Regions from separate parts of the Homo sapiens genome. Here all the other regions are linked to region 3. The links are contacts of gene promoters, found by promoter capture Hi-C in human tissues and cell types (Jung and others, 2019). All regions are on one chromosome and are shown on one strand. Each heading gives the region's core, a stretch centred on a gene start or on the middle of the fragment in contact. The rest is flanking DNA. Distances are from core to core; before and after follow the strand shown. Region 1 has its middle 150 kb from the start of ZNF618. Region 2 has its middle 180 kb from the start of ZNF618. Region 3 holds the start of ZNF618 (zinc finger protein 618).

What was found. Contacts are between HindIII fragments. The study calls those that stand out against the background at their distance.
Region 1: a contact is called between a fragment that was not itself captured here and the fragment with the promoter of ZNF618 in region 3, in 1 of the 25 tissues and cell types used here (aorta).
Region 2: a fragment that was not itself captured here is called in contact with the fragment with the promoter of ZNF618 in region 3 in 1 of the 25 tissues and cell types used here (lymphoblastoid cells).

The regions. Positions count from the first base shown.
Region 1 is chr9:113,729,863-113,732,562 of GRCh38, forward strand. No RefSeq gene overlaps it. Among named protein-coding and RNA genes, the nearest start is that of ZNF618, 150 kb to the right of the region's middle. The HindIII fragment of the contact is 3,375 bases long and covers 1-2,700 here.
Region 2 is chr9:113,696,656-113,699,355 of GRCh38, forward strand. No RefSeq gene overlaps it. Among named protein-coding and RNA genes, the nearest start is that of ZNF618, 180 kb to the right of the region's middle. The HindIII fragment of the contact is 4,478 bases long and covers 1-2,700 here.
Region 3 is chr9:113,875,007-113,877,706 of GRCh38, forward strand. It overlaps ZNF618 (zinc finger protein 618), which reads left to right and starts at 1,303. Exons shown (of 15, transcript NM_001318042.2): 1 at 1,303-1,407. The coding sequence starts at 1,375. The HindIII fragment of the contact is 30,531 bases long and covers 1-2,700 here.

The sequences.
Region 1 (2,700 bases), core at 14-2,513, 150 kb before region 3:
TTAAAGTATATAATTAACTGGTTTTTAATAAACTCACAAGACTGTGCAACTATTACCACTATCTAATTAAAAACACTTTGATCACCTCCCAAAGAAACCTCATATTCATTAGTAGTCACTCCCTATGTCCCCCTCCGCCTTATCCCTAGAAACCACTTATCTACTTTTTATCTCCAAGATTTGCCTATTCTGAACATTTCATGTAAGCAGAATCATATGATATGTGGTCTTTTGTCTCTGGGTTTTTCCACCTAGCACAATGTTTCATCTTATAGTTCACCTAACATAATGTTTCATCTTACAGGATGAATCAGTTACTTCATCCTTTTTAGGGCTGAATAATATTCCATTGTATGAACGGACCACATGTTATTTAACTATTCATCAATCAATTGATGGGCATTTGGGTTGTTTATACTTTTGGGATGTCATGAATGCTGCTATGAAAATTGTATACAAATTTTTGTGTGGATATATGTTTCTTCTGCCTGCTAAAATATTGCACTTAAGCCATATCTGGAAATGAAGTTTTTATTTCAGTTATTATATTTTTCTATGCCAGAATATCTAATTGGTTCCTTTTAATAATTTTCTACATTTTTACTGATATTCTCTATATGGTGAGCCATCATTCTCATACTCTCCTTTAGTTCTTTGGACATAGTTTCCTTAGCTCATTGAACATAATTTCAATAGATGATTTAAAGTCTTTGTCTATTGGTGGCTGAGGCGGGAGGATTGCTTGAGCCTAAGGAGTTCGAGACCAGCCTGAGCAACATGGCAAGACCCTGTCTCTACCAAGAAAAAAAAAAAATTAGCCAGGCATGGTGGTTTGCACTTGTGGTCCTAGCTACTCAGGAGGTTGAAGCAGAAGGATTGTTTGGGTCTGGGAGGTAGAGGCTACAGTGAATCATGTTTCTGCCATTACACTCCAGCCAGCACAACAGAGCGAGACCCTGTTTCACACACAAAAGAAGAATGAATGAATGAATAAATAAATAAATAAATAAAAATAAAGTCCTTGTCTAGTAAGACCAGTGTCTGCTGTTCCTCAGGAACAGTTTTTATTGACGGCTTTTCTTCCTGTATATGGGCCATAATTTCTTGTTTCTTTATTATTATTAATTATTTTCTCTTAAGTCCCCCTGAAAATGAAATACTTTGTTTCTTTAAATGTCTCTTAATATTTTGTGGAAAATTGGAAATTTTAAATTTGGCAACTCTGGAAATAAGATTATCCAGGATTTGTTGTTACTGTTTGTTGCTTTTGTTAATTTCTTTAGTGACTTTTCTGAACTAATTGAGTAAAGTCTGAATTCCTAGTTCTGTTTAGCCATCTAAGTCTCTTACCTTAGTGGTGAGCAAATGATTGGATAGAGATTTCCTTAAACTCTTGCAATCAGTAAATCTCCCTCTCTTTGCCAAAGGACCGTGTGTGTGTGTGTTTGTATGTGTGTGTGCATGCTTTCCAAACTCAGCCAGGCTGTTAGCAACTCTAACTCTTCACTTCTTACTTGTGCAAGATCTCAAGGTCAGCCCAAGGTGGGAGCTTAGGACCTTCTCAGGTTTTTCCTGCATATGTGCATAGCCCTAGGTATGTGTATAGCCCTATGCATGTGTGTGGCCTTCTAGAGTCCCAGGAACATGTCAAAACTTCTTAAAGCCCCTGTGGACATCTCATGCCTCAGCTTTTCCTTTTAAGCTTTTTGTTTAGCCTATTGTTTACCCCAATTATCTAACTGCCTTGGGAAGCTACAAATGTAATCAATTGCCTCTAATTGTTTATAACAAACACCCCCCAGGGAAAAGGCTTTTTGTACTGTGTGAGCTTTGAGTCAGGTCAAATAAAGACAGCTCTTTAAAGTGAGGGCTTCCAGACAACTGTTAGACACATCGAATGATGACAATTTTCTGGAAATGAAGCTTTGAAGGAACAGCAACCCTGTTAAGCCCCCATGGTGGCTGGCAGGCTGCTGATTTTTACTATGATTTTAGGCTGTTAATTTTCAAGGCTACTGTGGAGCTGGAGAGCATGAGATGGAAACAGGGCAAATTAAAATGCCACAACACTTGCTGTCTTTGCTAAGATTTAGCTGTTTTTCTTTAATAATTGCTCCCTAGATTGCTACAAGAATTTGATTAACTTCCAGACTTCTAAAAAAGTTGATTCTAAAAATTTTTTGCCAGTATTCACATGACATATTCGAAGCATTAACGCTTCCATTTTCACTGGTATCAGCTTTTCAGGTGTTTTTAAATTTTGGTGTACAAGTTCATTTTGAATGGGAGAGCTCTTTCTCCCTGCATTCCTCCCTGTCTAGCAGTTATGTGGCCATCTCCACCCTGCCCCTCGGGACCCTTAGTTCAGAGCCATGTTTTACATTAGCAGGCTGGAGCTCTAGCCCAGTGATCACACTGGGGTTACTGCAGATACTTTCATCGAGTCAGCAGCTTGATTGATGTCCTGGTGGTAAGGATCTGTCCTCCCCGTCTCCCTAAGCTTGCAGTTTCATATGGGATGTAACTGGGAGCTGTCGGCAGACATTTCTAGCTTCCTTTCAAGAGCAAAAGGTACCAGTGCTTCCCTGGTTTGGAACAGTGAGCCCGACTCAGGTGCCCCACCTCATGTTGAAGGTTGTTACTTCTGGTTACACCCCAGAATCCGAATTCCCACTCTTAATGTTTGCTTCCCAACCTTGA
Region 2 (2,700 bases), core at 143-2,642, 180 kb before region 3:
AATACTAAAATTAGTCAGGTGTGGTGGCATGTGCCTGTAGTCCCAGCTACTTGGGAGGCTGAAATAGGAGAATTGCTTGAACCTGGGAGGTGAAGGTTGCAGTGAGCCGAGATCATGCCACTGCACTCCAGTCTGGGTGACAGAGTGAGACTCCATCAAAAAGAAAAAAAAGAAAAAAGAAAAGTCTATAGCACCTCCCCCTTCTCTCTATTTCTCCTTCTCTGGCCATGTAAGACGTGCCTGCTTCCCTTTCACCTTCTGCCATGATTGTAAGTTTCCTGAGGCTTCCCCAGCCATGTTCCTGTATAGCATGTGGAACTGTGAGTCAATTAAATCTGTTTTGTTTATTTCTCTTTTTTTTTTTTCTGAGACAGAGCCTAGCTCTGTTGCCCATGCTTGAGTGCAGTGGCATGATCTCAATTCACTGCAGCCTCTGCCTCCTGGGTTCAAACGATTCTCATGCCTCAGCCTCTCGAGTAGCTGGGATTACAGGCATGTGTTACCATGCCCAGCTAAGTTTTGTATTTTTTGTAGAGCTGGGGTTTCTACATGAATGTTGGCCAGGCTGGCCTCAAACTCCTGGCCTCAAGTGATCTGCCCACCTCTGTCTCCCAAAATGCTGGGATTATAGGTGTGAGCCACTGCGCCCAGCCTTTAAACCTCTTTTCTTGATAAATTACCCAGTCTCAGGTAATTCTTTATAGCAGTGAGAGAACAGTTCCCTTAGAGTTTGTGTCTTTAGGAAACCTCCTGGCTGGCCTGCCTTTTAATCAGGCTCAGGCTGCAGAGTGGTGTTAGCGGGAACAGAGCTAGATGTTGGGGCTTAAGGTAGGTCCACACCTTACTGATGTGATTGTTTCTTTTCTGTGTCCTTCCCCTCCTCAGACACCTCTGGCAGCTGCCTACTGCCTGCAGAATAAAGTCCTAGTCCCTTAACTTTCCAGGCCCTTCTAACCTGGTATCAGCATAACATCAATCTCCTACTTATCCTCTTGAGCGCCTGGAGGTTAAAGACCTGCTGCCCTACTTGCCTCGATGTTCTCTGCTCACTCTGGAGCCGTTCCCAGCCCTGTTGAGCCCATTCTCCTCACCTGGACCACTGTGGTGTCCTGCCTCCTGGAACCTGCACTGCTTGCCTGAGGGCTTTCTGAGCTTGCCAGGGCCCGTGTTGCCCACCAGGCTTGAGAAAATGAGCACGTCTCCCTACCACCACCATAGTCCTCAATCAATAACTGAGGAGGGTTGATGGTAAATACCGCAGTTCCTTCGCCCTTTCATGAGACAAATCTGAGGCTGTGCACCACACTGGCTCCAGAGTTCTCCAGGGAGATTGATATGGTTTGGCTCTGTGTCCCTACCCAAATCTCATCTCAGATTGTAACCCCCACATGTCAGGGGAGGGACCAGGTGGGAGGTGATTCCATCATGGGGGCTGTTTCCCCCATGCTGTTCTCATGAAAGTGTGTGAATTCTCATGAGAGCTGATGGTTTTAGGGTATGGCACATCCTCATTCTCACACACACTCCCTCCTGCAGCCTTGCTAATAAGGTGCCTGCTCTCCCCTTCACCTTCCACCACGATTGTAAGTTTCCTGAGGCCTCCTAGCCATGCTTCCTGCTAAGCCTGCAGAACTGTGAGTCAATTAAATCCCTTTCCTTTATAATTACCCAGTCTCAGGTAGTTCTTTATAGCAGTGTGAGAACAGACTAATAAAGAGATGAAGGCACCAACAGCACTAGTGGGCTTGGGAACACACTCTTCTCTCTCACTTCCCCACTTCTTAAGGTGTCTCTTCGCCTCCCAAATAAATGACTTGCCTGCAAATCCTTACCTCAGGGGGTGCTTCTAGGGGAACCCAAACCAAGACAGGTCTGTCCTGGAACATTTTCTCTTAGCCAACTCCACATAACAAACCCTCAAAGCCCAACTTCAGTGGGAACCCCATCTGAGGATGTGGGGAATAATACTAGCGAAGACTCAGCACCACATACCATTCTAAGCATTTCACCTGTACTAACTCACCCAAGTCTCACAGATTAGAGGGACCCTCCTCAGAGAGTCCTATGATTACCATCATGGTACAGATGAGGAAACCGAGGAAACTGAGGCATAGAAGGACTAAGCACTTTGTTTTAGGCCTGACAGGTAGAAAGTAATGGAGTTGAGTTGGACATGGTGGCTCATGCCTCTAATCCCAGCACTTTGGGAGGCCGAGGCGGGCGGATCACCTGAGGTCAGGAGCTTGAGAACAGCCTGGCCAACATGGTGAAATCCCGTCTCTACTAAAAATACAAAAAATTAGCCAGGCGTGGTAGCACACACCTGTAGTCCCAGCTACTCAGGAGGCTGAGGCAGGAGAATCGCTTGAACCTGGGAGGCGGAGGTTGAAGTAAGCCGAGATCCCACCACTGCACTCCAACCCAGGCAACAGAGCAAGACTCTGTCTCAAAAAAAAAAAAAAAAAAAAAAAAAAGAAAGGACTGCAGTTGGAACATGGTAGAGGTAACAGCTGAGTTTATGAAGACAAGACCTCAGTGTGCGTGCAGAGTGGCTGATGCTGATGCCTGCCTACATGCCATGCCTGGTTGCGTGGGTCACTTCTCCCTTTGTCATTTTGGACCGACTCTATCTAATGGAGCATAAGGGCCTAGTCTGGTGCCCACTGTGCCTTAGGGCTCAGGAGCTTTCATCAGGTGACA
Region 3 (2,700 bases), core at 53-2,552:
TTTCTGTTCACCTTGCATCTCATAGAAGAGCAATTCTTAACATTTTTATTCCAAAAATCAACCAGTTGTGGGAGATGTAGGATGGATCCAGTAATCCCTCCTTGTCTCTATAATAGGGCAGGTCCTTCATACTTTCAATTTTTAAAAAATCGGATTTTTTAGGAGAATAGGGAAGAGAATAGAAAAAAAAATCCCTTTTAAACTTTCCCAAGTCACAAGGAGGCAGTTGCTCAAGTTAAAAAAAAAAAAACAACAATAACAACAACAAAAAAACTGGCTATTTTGGGGTGTTGGAAAGAAATATCCTGGTTCACGTTTTATTTCACATGCAAGTTTCTCAAATTTTCCTTCTCTAAATCAACCTAACTGGGGGATATGGGGGTGGGGGGCGCTAATATCCCTTAACCTTTAACCCCTCTTGTCTTACTGTAGGACCAGTTTTTCAAACTTTTATTTAGAAATACATATATATATTTTAATTTGGCAAGGATAGGCAGAAACAGCCGCTTCACTGGCATTTCACATAAAAGCGGCTCCTCAAGTATTTATTTTAAAAATCAGTCTGGCTGGGGGGCTAGAGTCCCCTTAACCACTCTTGTCGGACATGGGGCCAGTCCTTCAAACTTTTATTTTATTACATTAGTTTTTTTGGGAGGAGTGGCAGGGCAATAGAATATTCCCAATAAGCCTTCCAGTCTTCCAGCAAGCCAGCTCTTGAAAACTTTTATTTCAAAAATCAATCTGGTTTTTTTTTGGCGGGGGGGTACAGCGGGGTACAGAGTTCCCATTAACCTCTTGCGTTCCGCCGAGAGCCGGCTCCCTGAACTTTTTTTCCAGCGTGAAAATGACATTTCCGAGGGGCTGGGGGACTGGGGGAGGGCAGAAGGGAGCCGGGGAGCGGGCGCGGGGGGCGCGGGGAGGGCAGGGCGCGGCGCGGGAAAGTTTGGGGGGGCGGGTGTGCCGCGGCACTGGGGCTGGCGGACGGGAGGGCGGGCGCGCCCCTGGACCGGCCGGCTTTGTGTGCCACGCGGAGGCCGGCAGCGCGGAGGCCGAGGCCGAGGCCCCGAGCTCGCGGGCCGCACGGCGAGGCCGGCCCGGGGGCGGGCAGGGCGGCGGGGGGCGGCGGCGGCCCCGCGAGGGGCGGCTCGGCGGCAGCGGCTGCCGCGGCGCGGCCGGTGCGGGCCGGGGGTGGGGGCGAGGGCCGGCGCCCCCCCCGCGCGCCCCCAGCGCCCCCGCCCCCCCGGCCTGAGCGGGGCGGGCGGAGGAGGGAGCGGCGGCGGCGGCGGCGGCGGCGGCGGCGGCATTGTGCGCGCACCAGCAGCCCGGCCCGGGAGGAGCAGGACGCGCCGGGGCCGCCTCCTCCCGCACGGACCCATGAACCAGCCGGGCGGCGCGGCGGCTCCGCAGGTACGACGGGGGGCCGGGGGCATGCACCGCGCGGGGGACCCCGGGGGGCCGGGGCCCGGGGCGCTGCGCCACTTCATTGCAAGATTTGCAAAATGCAAAGTGCCTGGGCACGTTTGCGGGCTTTTTGTGGGCGCAATCGGGAGGGTCGGGGTCCGGAGAGCACCCCCCCGGGCGCTGCGGGGTGCGAGGAGGGTGGGGGTGACGAGGGGGTCTTTTGGGGCCCCCACCCAGCGCCCCCTCCGGCCCCGGGCTCGGACCGGAGCCCAGAAAACAAAGCGGCGAGAGAACAGAGCAGCCATTTCAGTTTGGACAATTCACATTTTGCAAAAATGCAACCCCTTCCAGCTCTGCCCCCTCCCCCCCAAATTTGCAATTTTCCCCTGACCCTCTCTGCGCTCGGGGTCCCCGATGACCCCCCGGGAGGTCTTTCCCCCCAGGTCCCCCATTTTTGCAACAATCTTTTTTTTTAGGCCATATTTTCCTTTCTCAATTTTTTTTTTCTAATTTTTCTTCAAACGGTAGTTTTTTCCCATTAAAACGACGCCACCTAGAGGATACTATTTTGTAAATAAAAAAGAAATTAAAATTGAAAAGAAATATTTTTTATTTCTTATTTTTTCAAAAGTTTGCACTACCAGGCAGTGGAGGGGTAAGAGATTCTTTTTTTTTCTTTTTTCGGGTGAAAATTTTCACTTTGATCTTTCCAGAAGCATGGAGACAATTTTTATTTCTGAAGCCAAATCCAGATAATATGTAAATGAAAATTAAGCTGGAATTTGAATGAATTTAGTTCTTGGAGGGGAGAAAGCAAAAAACCTCCTAAAAGCAAAGTCAGTTTGGGTACCCAACTCATTTTAGTTTGAGAAAAAAACTAATTGGAATAAAGAAAGGAGGGAAATTGTTGAGTTTAGGGAAAACTGAGAGAATTGGCTTTATGAAGCAATTAGAAATTGTACTTCATTGTAATTTGGAACTTGTTTAGCTCAGCGGGCAAAAAAAGACTAATTTCTCTATATGGCAATATTTAAAGTTTTTCTATTTCCACGAACGAAGGATTTAAAAGAGAAAATAGAACCTAAAATGTTGGCTTTGGACACACCCAAAAATTGTAGTTTTTTTTTTTTAATTTTGCATTTACATTTTACTGCATTTAAATCCTAAGATTCTAAAGAAAACAGAAACTAGAAAAGTTACAGTGAAATCCTTTCTTTCTTTTTTTCTGTATTTGTTGGGTTTTGTGTGTGTGTGTGTTTTTTTTGTTTTGATGGAATAATTAAGACTGTTTTCTGATTT